Linked DNA regions of Homo sapiens: regions 2, 3, 4, 5 and 6 are each linked to region 1. The links are contacts of gene promoters, found by promoter capture Hi-C in blood cells and fetal thymus (Javierre and others, 2016). All regions are on one chromosome and are shown on one strand. Each heading gives the region's core, a stretch centred on a gene start or on the middle of the fragment in contact. The rest is flanking DNA. Distances are from core to core; before and after follow the strand shown.

What was found. The method cuts DNA at HindIII sites, captures the fragments that hold promoters and counts their contacts. A CHiCAGO score of 5 or more calls a contact.
Region 2: a fragment that was not itself captured here is called in contact with the fragment with the promoter of ACTR8 in region 1 in 2 of 17 cell types (total CD4 T cells and activated CD4 T cells); the score reaches 5.2 in total CD4 T cells.
Region 3: a contact is called between a fragment that was not itself captured here and the fragment with the promoter of ACTR8 in region 1, in 1 of 17 cell types (total CD8 T cells). The highest score is 5.8, in total CD8 T cells.
Region 4: a contact is called between a fragment that was not itself captured here and the fragment with the promoter of ACTR8 in region 1, in 1 of 17 cell types (total CD4 T cells). The highest score is 5.5, in total CD4 T cells.
Region 5: a contact is called between the fragment with the promoter of ZNF621 here and the fragment with the promoter of ACTR8 in region 1, in 2 of 17 cell types (total CD8 T cells and total CD4 T cells). The highest score is 7.1, in total CD8 T cells.
Region 6: a fragment that was not itself captured here is called in contact with the fragment with the promoter of ACTR8 in region 1 in 1 of 17 cell types (activated CD4 T cells); the score reaches 7.9 in activated CD4 T cells.

Annotation. Positions count from the first base shown.
Region 1 is chr3:53,880,787-53,883,608 of GRCh38, forward strand. ACTR8 (actin related protein 8) reads right to left here and starts at 1,366. Exons shown (of 13, transcript NM_022899.5): 1 at 1,193-1,366. The coding sequence starts at 1,315. RefSeq lists silencers at 993-1,102, 1,493-1,582 and an enhancer at 1,253-1,332. The HindIII fragment of the contact is 9,111 bases long and covers 709-2,822 here.
Region 2 is chr3:38,517,891-38,520,712 of GRCh38, forward strand. The region is part of intron 5 of EXOG (exo/endonuclease G); the gene reads left to right. Among named protein-coding and RNA genes, the nearest start is that of EXOG, 23 kb to the left of the region's middle. The HindIII fragment of the contact is 592 bases long and covers 1,105-1,696 here.
Region 3 is chr3:69,081,517-69,084,338 of GRCh38, forward strand. No RefSeq gene overlaps it. Among named protein-coding and RNA genes, the nearest start is that of ARL6IP5, 2.0 kb to the right of the region's middle. RefSeq lists enhancers at 561-620, 1,425-1,584. The HindIII fragment of the contact is 2,467 bases long and covers 108-2,574 here.
Region 4 is chr3:39,398,177-39,400,998 of GRCh38, forward strand. No RefSeq gene overlaps it. Among named protein-coding and RNA genes, the nearest start is that of RPSA, 7.1 kb to the right of the region's middle. The HindIII fragment of the contact is 499 bases long and covers 1,084-1,582 here.
Region 5 is chr3:40,523,579-40,526,400 of GRCh38, forward strand. ZNF621 (zinc finger protein 621) reads left to right here and starts at 1,382. Exons shown (of 5, transcript NM_198484.5): 1 at 1,382-1,696; 2 at 2,201-2,286. The coding sequence starts at 2,263. RefSeq lists enhancers at 984-1,073, 1,352-2,164, 1,724-1,863 and a silencer at 1,264-1,423. The HindIII fragment of the contact is 8,303 bases long and covers 383-2,822 here.
Region 6 is chr3:41,199,802-41,202,623 of GRCh38, forward strand. The region is part of intron 1 of CTNNB1 (catenin beta 1); the gene reads left to right. Among named protein-coding and RNA genes, the nearest start is that of CTNNB1, 1.7 kb to the left of the region's middle. RefSeq lists enhancers at 1-353, 465-574 and a silencer at 1-114. The HindIII fragment of the contact is 826 bases long and covers 978-1,803 here.

The sequences.
Region 1 (2,822 bases), core at 116-2,615:
AGATTCCCTCCTCCCTCTGGTTAGCTCCTAATCACCTTCAGGACTCTAAACAGATGTCACCTCACCTCCTTTGAAGAAACCCTCCCTGACTGTCGGGGATGGAGGAGGTACTTGCTTGAGTGCCCAATACTGCCCTCTGCACAAGCCCATTCCATGCCATGCTCTGATACCTGTTGTCCTATCTCCAAGTGTGACCTCTCTCCTCCTAATCACCCCCCACAGAGTGGGAGAATCCTAGAGGGAAGGATCTGGCAAGGCCCTTACAGACCATCCAGTCAGCCTTCTCAACTAGACAGATGGAGAAACCAGGCCTGTGCAACAGTAATGGCCACTCTGGGCTTACGGTGTGCCAGGCACTGTCATACTAGTGATAACTAACTAGTAGCTGCCCTACTAGTTAGGTATTATCCTTAACCCATCTACCGGTAAGGAAGCTGGATCAGAGATGTCCTACATGAATTTCTGAGCAGTTTATGCCTCATTTCTTCTGTGAATTGTACACTGCCTGTGCCCGTTTTCCTACGTGAATGCTGTTTTAGTTACTGATCAGTAAGGTTTTGTGTATGTGTATACATCTAAGGTCCTCTGCCAGGCACGCTACTGCAAATAATTTTTTCTGGTTAGTTTAGTTTGGTCTAATAGTGTTGTTTTTGATACACAAGCTCTTAATATATATTTAGACAAATGTCCACCATTTCCTTGCTTTTAAGCTTGAAATGACTTCCATTATCTGAGATTTCCTTAACAAAGGAAAAAGCCTGGACCCCAAACTATCCCTTAACAAGCACAGGCTGACGCTCCCAGTGAGCCAGCCTGGTCCTAAACTCTATCTGCCACCATTTAACCCTCACGGCAACTTGCGAGGCGGCTGGTTATCACCGTGGTCGTTTTATGGTCGGGGAAGCTGAGGCCAGAGCCCGGGCAGGAGCGCACACAACCAGACGGTGGGGCGTGCGGGAGATCGGAGCGGTGTCCCTGCGGGGGCTCCGCCTGGCTCCTGGCGCTCCGCACCTCCCAGCCCTCGGCGTCCCGGCGCGCCACCACCCGGAAAAGAACGACCGCTTCCGCACTCCCCCCACCAGGGGCTGGGGCCTGCAAGGGGGACTCGAAGCCTCCCGCCGCCTCCCGCCCCTTGCCTGGCAGCGGAGGACCCAAGCAAGGGCAAAGAGTTCCAACCCAGCCAGAGCCGCACCTCTTGCAGCGACTCCGGCACCAGCGCGGGCACGATGGGCCGCTTCACGCCGCGCTGCTCCTTCTCCTTCTCGCCGCCCTTCTCCTTTCCGTTCTCCGTATCACCCTTCTCAGCCTGGGTCATTATGGCCGGAGACACCCACCAACCTCTCGCCTCAGCGCTGCAGCCACGACTGCCGGGATGGAAGGGCCACCGCGCAGGCGCACGGCCGGCTGCCCACAGTCAAGATGGCCGCCGCGGAGTCGCCCCAGAGGGCTCCGAAAAGGCGGGGGTGGGGCTGCCCGGCGCAGGGGCTGGGGGCGGGGTGTGCATGCGGATTGATTGGGTGGGTGTTGCTGTGATTAGTCCTGACTGTGTAGATGCCAGCAACATAGTACACATAGCTTTTCGAGCGCCTAGTGGGGGTCGGCTGATAACCCGCATCTTATTTCGTCCTCACAGGCATCTCTTCTCCTGGCTTCCCAGATACCATATGTACTCTTAGTTTTTCTCATATGTCTTCATGTTCAGTCCAGCCTCTGATGTTGGGGTTAGGTCTTTTCCAGGCACACTCCTTGGGTGACTATCCAGTTTCCTGGCTTTAGCAATGAATACGATTCCCAAATATATATATCCAGGATGAACCGCTCAGAGAGATCCGTACTGATAACCAGTGCCTACTTGGTCTCTCCATCTGGATTGTCTACAAGGCACTGCAAACTTAAATATGTCCAAAATTTAACTCTTGATTCCCTCCCCTCTCACTTTCACCATCTCAGTAAATGTCATTTTGATTCTTCACTTGTTGACAGCTTCTACATCCAATCCATCAGTAAATCCTGCAGTCTCTAAAATAGATCTTGAATTCATCCACTTCTCCATTCCCATGCCACTACCTAGCCCAAGCCACTATCATCTCACCTGGATGACTACAACAGCCTCTTAACTCGAACTCCTTGTCCTGTCCCCCTATGATCTGTTCTTATATAGTTGCCCACGTTGTTTTAAAATATTACGTAGTTAATACTACTATGTACCCAGCACTCCACTAAGACTTACCTCAAAAATTAGATGTCACTCATGCTTTAAACTCTAATGGTTTCCCTTTGCTCAAAGAACAGAATCTAAACTAACCACCACCTAAAGACCATATCTAGTTATTGCTACATTTCTAAGTTCACCTCACAACACTCTCCCCATTCCTTGGCATTTCCAGCTACACCTGTTTTATCTTTCTCAGACATGCCAAGCCCTTCCCGTCATCGGGCTGTTGCACTTGCTGTTCATTTTGCCTTGGATGCTCTTCCCTCAGCTGTCTCATTCTCACGTCTGAACTCAAATGTCACCTCAGGCCTTCCGCAGTTATTCTCTCATCATCCTATTCCCTTTGAAGCATGAAGCATTAGTCTGTAATTATCATGCCTGCTCACTGTCTCCCACACTAGAATGTAAGCTCCGTGAGACTTTGCCAGTTATCTTCAGCACATGGTAGGTGCCCAATAAGCATGTGATGACTAAATACTAAATAAAGAACTCTTGGAGGTAAAAATTTAATCCCCGTTTTACAGGTGAGTGAAGTGGGATAAAATGGCATAATTCACTCAAGATCATAAGCTATTGAGTAGCAAAGACAAGAGTTAAGCATAAAGTA
Region 2 (2,822 bases), core at 151-2,650, about 15 Mb before region 1:
ACAAATATCTCCATAATAATACTGCTTTTATTAGTTTTGGCATTATATTTCAAGTCAAACTTTATTTCAGGTAGAATTTTAAACCTAAAAATCTTTGGTGTATCTGTTAGATGAAAGCAAAATATAGTTTGTTAGTAAAATAAATTTGAAAAATTATCTTGAAATTCTTGCCAAGAATTTAATTGGGCCCAAATTTTTATATATATGCACACACACATGTATCTATAAACTTGGGAGAATTTGGTTAAGAAATAGAGATGTGGGAGGTCTACCTAGGCAAGGTGAAGAGATGAGAAGCGATAGGATATATGCTGAGAAAACAGTTAAGTTAGAGCGTTCATGTAGGGAAGGAGACAAAAATAAAAGGAAAGTTTGGGGCCTGGTGGCAGAAACTTCAAATGACCAGCTAAAAAGTTTAGGCAAGAACTTCAAGATAATTTTCTAGCAAGCAGGGCCTTTGAAAAGTAGGCAATTAATTATAAAACAAATATAGATAAAATGATGTCCTTTAATTATTCTGGGAAAGGGGACACAGCATTGCCCAGTGCTGGAGACTGGTCTGTTTCTCTCAAGCAACGAATAATTTGAATCATGAATTCCCACTTTCAAGGCAATGTCTTGCAATTACGTACGGCAATTCAGAGTGCTTGGAAAGTGTTTTGTTTTCTCAGATCTAGCCATTTAATATTTACTGCTTGCTTACAACTATACTCTGAACCTTATTTTAGGAAGTTGTACCCAATAAAAGGGTTTATTTAGTTTTCTGTCCAGGCAATGAAGCATATATGTGTTTTTACTTTGGGGGAAGTAAAGCAAATGAACTGGCATTTCTTGAGGGCCAGGTATACCAGGCAGTATGTAAGTAGCTTTATATATGCATCTCATTCAATCTTCACTACACCCTTACAAAAAAAGTAGTGACCATTTTCTTTTATAGACAAGAAAATCAAGGCTTTAAGGATCAAGTCTCAGGCATATAGCTTATAATTGTCAAAGAGGGTATCCAAACATGGGTCTGTCTGACAATTGCCAGTCATTCACAGTGTTACTCTTTGAAGCGCTCAAGTTTATAGTAAATGAATTGCTGTGCTGTTCATATACAAAAGCTTAAGGTTAGCAGATAATAAAAGATGGTGTGGATGGAGAGAGGAGTTACAAGTGATACTTGCTAGCATGCAAAAATAACAGAAAATGGGCCAAGAGGAGGATTCCTTATAGCCAGGCAGAAATGTCTGTTAGAATATGTAGGAAAGGATCACATCATCATAGAACTTGAGTGAATATGAGCCTAAGGGAAGATTCGTAGCAGTGATTTTATCAGAAGTGAGTCATCTGACAGTTCTAATCAGAATCACCCCCTTTATTATATAGCTGAGGTCATCCCTGTGCTTTCTCTGATGTTCCTGTTTCAAGAAGAGGTTGATTCCAGACAAGTGAAACATACCTGAAGATTCTGGTTTGGACATTATAAATGGTCTGACAAGAAAGTGAGCTTCAGATTTTAGAACTCAGTGATGGTGGTAATGTTAGAAATATTTAACAATCTGTGTTCTTTTATAACAGCACTTTGCAAACTTCCATTATACTAACCCTAAAGGGGAGGAAATTGAAAATGCCCTCAGGAGTCTTGAGACATCATTTGAAGTGATATGGGAGTAATATTTTTTTTTAAGTCTCTTGCTTTATATTTAGGGAAAGCTTTTGTTCATTTCCATATCTATTTGTTTTAATGAAAGTTAAATTATTTTACTGGTTGTCTCCCTACCCTCACCCTAAATTTTCAAGTACCATTGACAGCCTAGAAAGAGGGTGCTTGTTTTACTGTGACTTAGTAGGCTGCTACCCTTTGGCCTGGAACAGGTACCCCAGTGTGAGAAGTACCGTCTTCCAGGGTTTGTGCTGCCACAAAAGCATCTGCTGAGGCTCTATAGATAACACAGGGGGCGACCACATTCTTGTTGACTTTACCACACTTTGTGACTCCCTCACTTTTCATGTTCCTTCCCCCCCTCAGGTTCGGATTTCCTGTTTATCAAACTCCCATGGTTTCTTTCTTTCACTTGATCGGCATGACTTTTTAAGGGCGTGGTCTCTTGATCTGTCCCTCTAGTTTTATTTTTGGAGTTTCTTTTTTTGTCTTACCAGGGGAATGTAACCAAATATATCTATCTAATTCTAGCAGGTACATATTTTTTCCTCTTGATGCTGCTTAATATTTTATTGGAGGCACATTTACAGTATGTATGACCTTACAAATGGCAGGCTTAATATGGGTATTGTTTGTTTTGGGTCTCTTCTGGGTCTGGGTGGCACAGGTGGTGGTGGCAAATTGTCATTTCTGTCTCTTGGATGGAAGGAAACAAGCTCAGGCCAGTATATAAGAAAACTAGCTTCAGGTTGCGAATGAGTGCCAGCTTATGTATTGTATTTTCTAGTTAACTCCCAGTTGACTTCCAATTTTTGCTACAGTCTTGAGTAGAGTTCAGTGCTTCTTGGGAATTTAATAGCAGCAAGGGTTTCCTTTGCAAAATATTTTTATACCTAAATCTTACATGAAAAGGGTTGTTTGCTGACTCACTGATTAACTAGACTTGGTTTATGTTAAGCCTTTGAGTCCTTTGTTACAGACATCATTTGTGCCCAAGTTGCTTTCTCCTCCTGAAACCCCATTGCTGACCTGTAACTAGTCTAATCTTGCTTGATTATACGTTTCCCCCGCCCCCATCCCTCTGTAAAACCATCTTTTGTACCAAATGCCGTTGTATCTTTTGAATGATGTCCACTACAAAATAGCTTTTTACATAGATCTTGTAGATTTTGAA
Region 3 (2,822 bases), core at 91-2,590, about 15 Mb after region 1:
GAAATGGAGTACATAAAGCCTGATGGGTACTCAGTAAATGTAGCTGCTGTTACTACACTGTGATATTTAACCTCCTCTTGTCCTAGTTTTCAGTGAACCTTAAGGAAAGCTTGTCCTTTATGGTCCCCCAATTAGGTTCAGTTCAATAGCATTCACTGAGCTGAAAGTCAATGCCAGGCAGTGAGCGTGGGAATAGAGTTCACAGTCCCTATCAAGAGATACCAGCCTCCTTCTGCATCACATGTCTCAGCGTCAACTATGAAACTACTTTTTCTTGCCCAGACAACTCCACAGATGGTTTCACTGAGGATTTAACCTCAGTGCTTATCAAAATGGGCTCCTGTAGCCTGAACCCCCAACAATACTGGATACCCTTTGATTAGTGGTAGTGAGCATTGCAACCCTCTCAGATAGTGAAAAGCAGCAGTCACCTTAAAGGCCACCTAGTCCAGTCTCACCCATTTCACAGGGGAGGAAACTGAGGCCTAGGGATAGAGTACAGCTAGCCGATGAAGAAGTCTGCAAAGGTATCTGGCCCTGCATCTGCTTGCTTTGAGACTAACAGCCTGACTCACCATGGTGGTATTTTGATAAACGACACCAGGCACTCTCACTGGCTTAGATTGATTGACGGATTAGAAATAGCCATCTGCCCTTGCCAGGAATGAAAGCAACAGAGACATGCAAGCAAAACCTTCAACAGATTTATTTTACTTCAAATGGAACATATCATAAACAATTAGACTATCTGCTATGGTTTTTAAACAGACAGATAGTCTGAATGGTCCTATCTAGACACACCAGTCCCATTATAAAAGCCCCATCAAGCAGGGCTCGGCTTCCCACACCTGTAGTCCCGGCTACTTGGGAGGCTGAGGTGGGAGGACTGTTTGAGCCCAGGAGTTTAAAACCAGCCTGGGCAACATAGTGAGACCCTGTCTCTAAAAATAATAATAAATTAAAGCTCCAGAAAGACCTCTACAGTGAATCTGACCCCTCCCTCCCCGGAATGAACACTAACAAAGAGCTGCTACTAATAGCATTTCAAACAGTTACTGGAAAAAAGTAATGACTCATTACATGTTCATTTTTATTTAAAATAATTTAACAAAGGTAGAAATATTTAGAGAAAAAAAAAATCTCCCATACCCCAAAGAGAGAGACAGGGTTAACATTTTGGGAGGGAGACAGAAGGGAATCATGCTATAAACAGCTTTCTCTGTCTTTTCAGAATTTATTTATTTATGTTTAAACCTCTAAAGAGGTTTAATTCTTTCTTGGGTATCAATTGCCTGTGATCAAGGAGTAATCATATTGTTACTAATACACTCTTGACAGCTTTTGGTCATGCAGTTCTGAGCAGTTGGAAGATAAAGTTCTTAGTTACAGCTTCTAATACTCATAAATCTCACCAACAGTGTGGGGCCCCACTGGAGTTCCCACTCTCATCTTGACCAAGATGATTTACTCAGCTTGCCCACAGTGCTGCCTCTTGACATTCTGAAGCCCTGGGGAATTCCTCCACACCCTCTGACTTCCTGTAACTGAGCACTGAGGCTCAGTGCATCTCTATTTAGCACTCCTCTTACTGTCTCATATTTAACTAGTGTTTCCACTGGATTGCAGAAGTTTTGAAGGCAGAGCAGGATTACATTTTTCTCCTCTTTAAAAAAAAAAAGAAAAGAAAAGAAAAAAAACCCACAGTGCTTTCACAGAGCCTCAAAAGAACTCGAAATACTTGCTGGCATTGTACTGAATATTCTCAACCTTTTCCCCCTACCCAGATACATCCACAACAATAAAGTTGGAGCAAGGTAGAGAAAAGTTAGTAGATGTTTATAATGAAAGCATAGAAAACAAATCAGATTAAAGCACTATTAATAGCAAACAAGAATCGTGGGCTATCCTATTGCTAATAACAATAATAGTAACATATAACTGTGAACCTTTATTATACACTAAGCATTTCCTATACATTCCTTCACTTAGCCTCGTCTATATGGCAGATGTTCCATTATCCCCACTTTACACATGAAGACACCGAGGCTGGGAGAGATTAAGTAGTTTCTCCAAAGTCACCTGCCAGAGAGGAAGGAGCTGCGACTCTAATTTTGCTTTCTCTGACTTCACACCATCCCATTTTTCCAGAATCAAGAAAACATGAGCACTCAGGAATATTTTCACATTTTAAACTTTATTCAAAAAGCAGCACATAAGATATATCTTAGCACTAATTCCATGCAATCACCAAATTTTCCTAAACAACAGTAGTAGTAGTAATTTCTTAGAGTCGCTGTAAGCTCCTTAACTGTCTTCTGAATTAATAAGGAAAATTAAATTATGTTTTCTAGACTTTGCATTAGTATATTTCATTACTTTCCAAGTTTTCAAAAATTGGTGATCTGAGTAGAGTGAATTCACCTTGTCTAAGCCACTTAGGGGCTTAGAGACTCTGTTATCTTAGAAATCTTCACCTTAGAATTCTACCTATTACATTATACAATTAAACAAACTACTTTTTTTCTCATGCATTGTACCAATCAGCCCCTTAACTGAAAAAAGATGACCCTTGGAAGCTTAGAAGAGAATTGACAACGAATACTTCTTTTGCCAGGTCTTTGGGCTGGGATACAAAACATCACGTTATCTATGAATATATTGTGGTCCCTCAGTGAAAGCTGTCACCAAATATTGCAATAAAACTAAGAAAACTTTTGAAGTGGAATGCATATTTCTGCCCAGAAAATGCTGGATGCAGAACAACTAGTTCACTGCAGACAACTGTTTGCTTTAAAATGTAAGCAACATGCCCAGCTCAGGAC
Region 4 (2,822 bases), core at 83-2,582, about 14 Mb before region 1:
GGAGAACCACTTGAACCCAGGAGATGCAGGTTGCAGATCACACCACTGCCCTCCAGTCTGGATGACAGAATGAGACTCCATATCAGAAAAAAAAAAATCAGGAAACAGCCATTACTTTATACAAGAAGCACAAGTTGGGGGGATATTTAGTCTTGTGGTTAAGAACATGGGCTCTAATCCAGGCAGCCCAGGTTGAAAGCTGCTTGCTCTCCACTACCTAGGCATGGCACTGAAACTATGCCTAGGAAATGGGGTTAGTTTGTTTTGGGGGTTTTTTAGGGGGCGGAGAACAAAGTGTCGCCCTGTTGCCCAGGCTGGAGTGCAATCGTGCAATCTCAGCTGACTGCAACCTCCACTCCTGGGTTCAAGCAATTCTCCCACCTCAGCCTTCCAAGTAGCTGGGACTACACGCTGGGCTAATTTTTTGTATTTTTAGTAGAGACAGGGTTTCACCATGCTGGCCAGGCTTGTCTTGAACTCTTGATCTCAAGTGATCCACCTGCCTCAGCCTCCCAGAGTGCTGGGATTACGGGTGTGAGCCAGCGCCCCCAGCCGGAAATAGGGTTAGTAATGTTTCCTGCCTCTTCAGGTGGTGGTGAGGGTTAATTAATAAATGTTTCTGAAATGTGGTATTAGCTTCATAGGACAGCCACAACAAGTTACCACAGTCAGAATGGTTTATAACTCAATCTGGAGGCCAGAAGTCTGAAATCAATGTGTCAGCAGCATTGCACCTCTGAAGGCTCTAGGAGAGTCATGCTTTGTCTGTTGCACCTTCTAGTGGTGGCTAGCATTCCTTGGCTTGTAAAAACATCACTCTAATCTCTGCCTGTCTTCACATGCCTTTTCCCTTGTGTATCTGTTTCTCTCTATGTTAGACCCTATTTCCAAATAGGGTCACATTCGCAGGTATTAGGGGTTAGAACGCCAATATATCTTTTGGGGGGACACAATTCAACCCACAACACAGATTAAGCTGATGTATAAGTTAAAATCAGTTTATACTTTAGGCTTTAGGTTAAAACACCATATTTAAAATAGTAATTTGGGTAGGGGTGTGGGAGAGGATGAAGCAGGGTCCTAAGCTTACAGTGGCACCCAAGCCTCCAATGCTGTGACCTGTGTGTTGTGAGGCCTCGTGCTGTAGGAAGCAGGGGAGAGGTCAGGATGGGAAAGGAGAGAAGGGAGGGACAGTTGGATGGAGTGGCTGCTTCCTAAGAACTTAGACTCTGGAGTAGGTGTTCCATGTCCCTTGCCTCCTCAGCCTCCTTTGACCCTCATCCTGAGTGCAGGGAACCTAATGCCAGTGAGGACTCTTAGGGAGGAGGGGCAGAGATAAGGCCGAGAGAGTTGGGCTTCTTCCCAATGCGAATTTCCTGGCCTCACATTGGCAGATGAATTTCTGCCACCAGATTCCCCCTCACATTTTCTTCATTTGTTTTTTAGGGGAGCAAATAAATATGATAAAATCAGGAGAAATCATCTAGTTTTCTCTAAACATGAGGTAGAAAATTTGTCTTTGTGAATCTCGAGTCCTGCGGCAAGTAGCCTGTTTTTTCCTCTCTCACAGTCTCAGTATTAAAGCTTGGAAAGCAATTGGCTAGTGAGCGTTAGCTGGCTTTGGAAGCATTGCCCACTTTTTTTTTTTTTTGAGACAGAGTCTTGCTCTGTTGCCCAGGCTAGAGTGCAGTGGTATGATCTTGGCTCGCTGCAACCTCCGCCTCCCGGGTTCAAGCGATTCTCCTGCCTCAGCCTCCCAAATAGCTGGGATTACAGGTACCTGCCACCGCGCCCGGCTAATTTTTGTATTTTTTAGTAGAAACGAGGTTTCACCATCTTGGCCAGGCTGGTCTCGAACTCCTGACCTCATGATCCATCCGCCTTGGCCTCCCAAAGTGCTGGGATTACAGGTGTGAGCCACCACATTGGCCTTTTTTTTTTTTTAAATGGTTCCTTCTTGGCTGCCTTAGACTTATTAAAGCACATTAGAGGTGGGGCTCTGTGGGAGAAAAATAGTCAGATGGTGACTAAAGATAAGGCAGTGTAGGGCTAAAGCCAAAAGAAGACACAGAAGCAAAGGTTTCAAGCTGTATTACACTCACTTTCTAAGAATACATGATTATGAAATCTTTCAAGCCATCACAATAGGAAAGCCAATGGTCTACTGGCCCTTCATTCATATCGCTCAGATGGAGCAATTGCCAAGATTTTGCCACACTTGCTTCTCTCCCCTAACTGTGTCCCCTGCTCCTGCCACTCCTTTTTCTTTTTTTTTTCTTTTTTTTTTTTTTGAGACGGAGTCTCGCTCTGTCACCCAGGCTGGAGTGCAGTAGCGCAGTCTCGGCTCACTGCAAGCTCTGCCTCCTGGGTTCACGCCATTCTTCTGCCTCAGCTTCCCGAGTAGCTGGGACTACAGGCGCCAGCCACCACGACTGGGTAATTTTTTTTTATTTTTAGTAGAGATGGGGTTTCACTGTGTTAGCCAGGATGGTCTCGATCTCCTGACCTCGTGATCCACCTGCCTCGGCCTCTCAAAGTGCTGGGATTACAGGTGTGAGCCACCACGCCTGGCCTCCTTTTTCTTTTATGAAGCTTTTAGAGACAGATCCCAGACATCATATAATTTCACCCTTGCTTACTTCAATATGCATCTCTTAAAAATTATGGACTTTTTTTTAACATAAGTATGTCATTACCCCACCTGGAAAAATTTAACACATTTTTTGCATATCATCCATATTCACATTTCCCAGACTGTCCCAACAATGATTTTTTACAGTTGGTTTATTTCAATTAGAATTCAAACAAGGTCCATACAAGGC
Region 5 (2,822 bases), core at 132-2,631, about 13 Mb before region 1:
CACGGTGAAAACCCGTCTCTACTAAAAATACAAAAAATTAGCTGGGCGTGGTGGCGGGGTGCCTGTAGTCCCAGCTACTCGGGAGGCTGAGGAAGGAGAATGGCGTGAACCCAGAAGGCAGAGCTTGCAGTGAGCCGAGATTGCGCCATTGCACTCCAGCCTGGGCGACAGAGCGAGACTCCGTCTCAAAAAAACAAACAAACAAAAAACAAGCAAAAAAAAAAAAAACAAAGTCTGTCCATCTTAGCAACCACTTTGATACTGGAGAAAGGCTCCTGTCCAGAAGGAAGGGCACAGTAGTGAGGTACTTGCCAATGAGCTGGGTAGAGCTGCCACTGGCTGGCTTCGGGAAGTGTTTATCACTGACTGGCTCATGTTCAGAAGCTTGGAGTGAGGCTGTTGTGTACTGGTTGATTTTCAGAGTACGTGTACTGATCTAAAATTATGTAAATTAATGGCAAGTACTTGTTAGTGACTTGGGACTTTGGTCAAAAAACAGTCTTTTCCTTTCCTGAATATGAAAAGTAAGTTCTTTTAATTAGCAGCCTCCCCTCTTCACTGTTTTTTCTTCCTGCAGTCCAACTAACAGAACAGACCATAAAGGTCTGTCCAGATCATTATTTATGGAAGTATGAGATATATATATTTCAGCTGGTGTTAACATTTTATTTAAGTGCCAGTTACTGAGCAGAAAAATAGCTGTAACTACGAGTTTTTGTAATTTATTGGAAAAAGCTAAATATAAGACATTTAGGGTGTCCTCCCAAAGTCAACACAGGACAAGATCATTTAATATAGGACATGTCCTGTGTATACAGGATGCCTAGCAACTGTATGTAGCCACGGGTGTTTTGGTTGTTAAATGAATCTGTCCTAAAAGGTTCTACGCACATCTAGGTCCTTGGAAGGGAGAGGGCTAAAACGGCGAGTGGAAACCATGGTTTCCCTGAGGACTGCCCAGCTGAGGACCCAAGCAAGATCCTGGGCTTGGGCCTCTTAGAGATGACAAAGCAGGCGCCATTCTCCCCTCACCTGCACGGCCCAGGCTTCAGGTGAGCCACGGGGCCAAGGCGGCCAACAGCTGAGGCGCAGCCCGTGAACTGGGGGCCCACTTGTGCCTAGAGGGCGAGGTCTCGGTAGAGCCAGGCTGTATCAGTCCGTGACACTCCAGCCAGAGGCGATGCCGACGGCTGCCGGAGAAAGCCGGGCTTAGAGCGCCACAGTTCCACGCCCGCCGCCGGCCTCTCAGCCCAGCCGGTCGCCGCAACCTCGCCTCTTCCGCAGGGCGGGGCCAGCCATGAAAGGCGGGGCGGGTCTGGCCACGGGGCGACCGAGATGGCGGCCTCCGGGGGCCTAGAGGGACCCTGGGCGTGCACTCGCCCTTCCGGCTCGGCCTTTAGTTAGTGACCAGCTCCTCGGCGTTCTGCAGAGCGTGGGTTTCAGCGAGTTCTACGTGCCAGGTCCGCCCGGTGCCGGCTTCCTCGCTGCCCCTGGCGGCTCGTCAGCCCCCACTACCCCTGAACTTGGTCCCAATGGCGGCCCGCCCCTCCTTCACCCGGACCGTGGGCATCTGGGCCTCGCCGAAGCCGTCAAGGTGGCTGCTCGGGCTTCTAGAGCCCGTGTCCAGCCCTTTGCCACCGAGGCCTGATCCTCTTTTCTGCCCTAAAGAACTTGCCCTGACAGCCTCTGGCTCCCGGTACTGACGTTTCTGATGTTTGGGGTTGCCTGTTTTCTTGGGTGGAGTGTTAAGATCACGGTTGGGTGGGGTCTCCGGTCAGCATCACCCACTGGGACGCTGAGTATTTTACCCTTAATCCGCATTCAGCCACCCCAGTCCCTCTTCTCCTGAGGTTCTTTCTTTTGGGTCCACGTCATCGTCCCTGTAAGCATTCTGTAAAGACTCTTTACGTTTGTAGAGACCCAACACAATAGGGACAGGGCTCTTGGGTCCCTCAGTTTACCCGTACGAATGGGCTCAAAAAAAGCTCTTCGGACTGAGCAGGCAGGTGGAAGATTGTCCTGAAGACTAGGCAGAACAATTCATAAGAAGTTTGGGGCTATCAGCGTGAGAACAATTAGAGGGAGTCCTAGTAGAATCTCCGTGCATCCAGTGCTGGAAATGTGGAAACTGGGAGGGCCATAGGTTGCTGTAGGTGGTGGACGACAGGGTCCTTAGCACTCATGGCTCTTTTTCTCTTAGCTCTTGAGGATCTTGCTTGTCCAAACCCAGAAGACAGTGCATGAAGCCAGGGGACATCCGCCATGCTCCAAACAACTTGGCCTCAGGTGAGCTGAGCTTCTTTCAGTTTTTTTGTTTGTTTGTTTATGTTTTTTTACTCACATTAGCTATCAGATAATCAGGAAAGGATGAGGAAGGCCTAACTTGGCCAAGCTGTGTTTTCCCCTTTGTATCTATCTCCAGGGCTATGGCAGATGTAAATATGTGCTGGGGAAATGAAAGTTTTGTGTATAGAGAGTGATGAGTTTGGATGTATAGATTTAAATGGAAGAAAGGGGACCTATACCAAGAAATTCTTTCTGAATGTGGAAATCCAGATCGTGTTCTAGAAATGAAAGTCACCTACTGAAATCAGACTCATTTTTTGTGAGACGGAGTCTCACTCTGTCGCCCAAGCTGGAGTGTAGTGGCACTATGATATCGGCTCACTGCAGCCTCTGCCTCCTGGGTTCAAGTGATTCCCATACCTCAGCCTCCTAAGTAGCTGGGATTACAGATGTGCGCCGCCACGTGTGGCTAATTTTTGTATTTTTAGTAGAGACGGGGTTTACACCACGTTGGCCAGGCTGGTCTTGAACTCCTG
Region 6 (2,822 bases), core at 141-2,640, about 13 Mb before region 1:
GCTCAGGTGGGGGACGGTGAGGGTGGGCCGCGCCCGGGGCGCGGAGGGCGGCGGCCGGGCCCGGGTTCCGGTCGCGCTGCCTCTCTGGGGCCCTGGGGGCATCGCTTGCGGGGAGGGGGCGCCGCGGGGGCGCGTACAGGAGCCCGGATGGCAGGCGGGGTGGGGGTGGGGGTGGGGGTCTGTGGTTTCCGTCCGGGGCTCTGGCCTTGGCCGAGTTTGGGGGAGGGACCCGGTGCCTCGGGATGCGCCGGGCCCTGGGTGGGGGGCGGGGTGGGGACGGGGGGCTCCGCCTTCTCAGCTCTTGCGGCGAGTTGGGGTTCGGGCGCTGAGGCAGAGACGCCACCCTAAGTCCCATCAGTCCTGGGGATCGGACCAGTGGACTTTCTCTTAAGATTTCCTCTTTCATTCTTAAGAATAGAAGTGTTATTATTTTTTTTAATGCCCTGGCTATGTGAGTTTGAATCGAAGCAACTTTAAACCTTAGAGCAACTAAACTCTAAGTGCAGCGGGTGCGATGCGTCAGTAGGGTGAGCACATAAAAAATCCATGTCTTGCACCTGTATTTTAGCGTACTATGCAGGTGAGTGAAAGCAGTGGATAATGTACTGGGAGTCTTATGGATTTATGGTAGTGGGTATGAGACCCTGGTGAAATAAGGGGGTGGAGGAAGGCGAAGGTGATGGCTTACTGTTTCTTACCAAGTGAACTGCAGGATTCAGCCTCTGACTCAGACCGCTTCGAGAATTTTGTTCGTAGAAATAATTTAAATTTATTCAAATAGTTTGATGGCAGCTAAAATTGAATTATAGAGCACGTTTTCTTTTCAGCGGAGTGAATTTTTCCTTCGCTCCAAAGCTGGCCAAATGGAATTCAAGCATTGCAACTTCTTTCAGTGTTTTGTCTGGAGAGAGGACTTTGAACCGAGACTTTTCGAAGTTAAGTTCCTATAGCCTGCTTCTGAATCTGCCAAGCTTGAAAGCTTTGGCAGTTGGGTGTATGTAGTTGTTGCCTTCGTTCTCTTCCCTTTTGGAGGGAGCGTTGTCTCCTACTTTGTATCTTCCAGACATCTGTGGTCTTCCCCCCACCCCTCGAGTTTGTGAGTGGTGAATGAAGAAAGACTAGGCTGCTGGTATGCAGAGGTCGGCAAAAGGAAATCGAGGAGTGGTTTTAGTGAAATGAGAGCTTTGTATCATGAATAATGGTGGCTTAGGCTAGACATCAACTTGAAGAGACGGCAGCATTTCCTTTCATAAAGTCTAGGCTAATGTTTTTCAGATCGCTAAGTTGTAGTTTGTCTGGAATTTAGGAAGCCATTTCAGTATTTGTCACTTGGTGAACGAACATTCAATACCTTCAGATGTCTTCGTGTTGACTTGTATTCATCCTAAGAAATAGTAAATATAGTCTCAAGTGTTATTTATGTTATACTGCTGGTTTATTCTCTGCTTAAATTATTGACATAAATTTCTACTTTGGAGGCTTTTCGTTTGAACTAAGGCTGTGCGGAATTTATTTTACTTTTATATTTAAATCTTTGAAAAATCTCTGATTAAAAAAAAAGTACCCTTAAAGGTTTGAGGATGTCCTTTCACACCAGACAAAATTTGGTTAATTTGCGCCCAATATTCATTACTTTGACCTAACCTTTGTTCTGAAGGCCGTGTACAAGGACAAGGCCCTGAGATTATTGCAACAGTAACTTGAAAAACTTTCAGAAGTCTATTCTGTAGGATTAAAGGAATGCTGAGACTATTCAAGTTTGAAGTCCTGGGGGTGGGGAAAAATAAAAAACCTGTGCTAGAAAGCTTAGTATAGCATGTAACTTTAGAGTCCTGTGGAGTCCTGAGTCTCCCACAGACCAGAACAGTCATTTAAAAGTTTTCAGGAAAAACCAACTTAAAAAAAAATAAGGTGGCTAATTAAAAAAAAATGAAGCATTTAACAGTGTTCAGGTTTCAGAGTATGGAAGAGGGGTTTTTTAAACTGTTATCTGATTATTTCTTTTACCAACATGATATAGAAAAGTGTATTTCCAGTATTAAAATTTATCAGACTGAGCTTACTGTTCCTGTTAATGACTGGAATAAAAATTGGCATAAATGAGGGTCTGTATGCTTGTTTTAATAACACCACCACCAAGATAGAAAACGAGGAGGCAAGTTTCTCCAAGGGTATTTTGAAATGTGTTAGCAAAACTATTGCAGATACTCGTTTTTGTTATAGGGTGAGGTGGGGAGAGGCGCATGCTAAGTATTGTTGAAACTAGGGATGTAGAGAATTAAAAGTTTGAATATAATTATTTTGTAGTTATAAGTAGCAGTGAAATTAAATCTCCTGCAATAGACTATAGAAGTATATTTAGCCAAATGAAACTTCAGTGTTATTGAAATGAAATAATACATCTGTCCTGTTACAAGATTATTTTTATTTCTCTTGTGGTTTCCTAGCTTCTGATAATCAATAATTGTAGATGAGTAGGTGGTAAGTTTTAAGTTTGTACTTTGAGCTTAGTCGGAAGCATGCTTGACTGCCAACCCGGGGCACAAAGGATGAAGGCTTTTAGAACTGGACAAACTTCTAACAAAAGGTATTTGCAACTCTTTTGTAGTGTGTCATGTTGATTTGTGACATTGTTTTTGAAAATATGTGTTAACTTAGTTTTCTTGTAGCCCTCTTTTTATTGGAACTGTGGTATCTATTGTTGAAACTGCTTGACTGAGAACATTTTTATACCATAAAAGTAAATAGTAAACATAGCCCAGGAGCGGCTTCTGGTTTGTCCATCGTATGTAGCCATTGCCTCCTTGTACTCTCATTGAGAA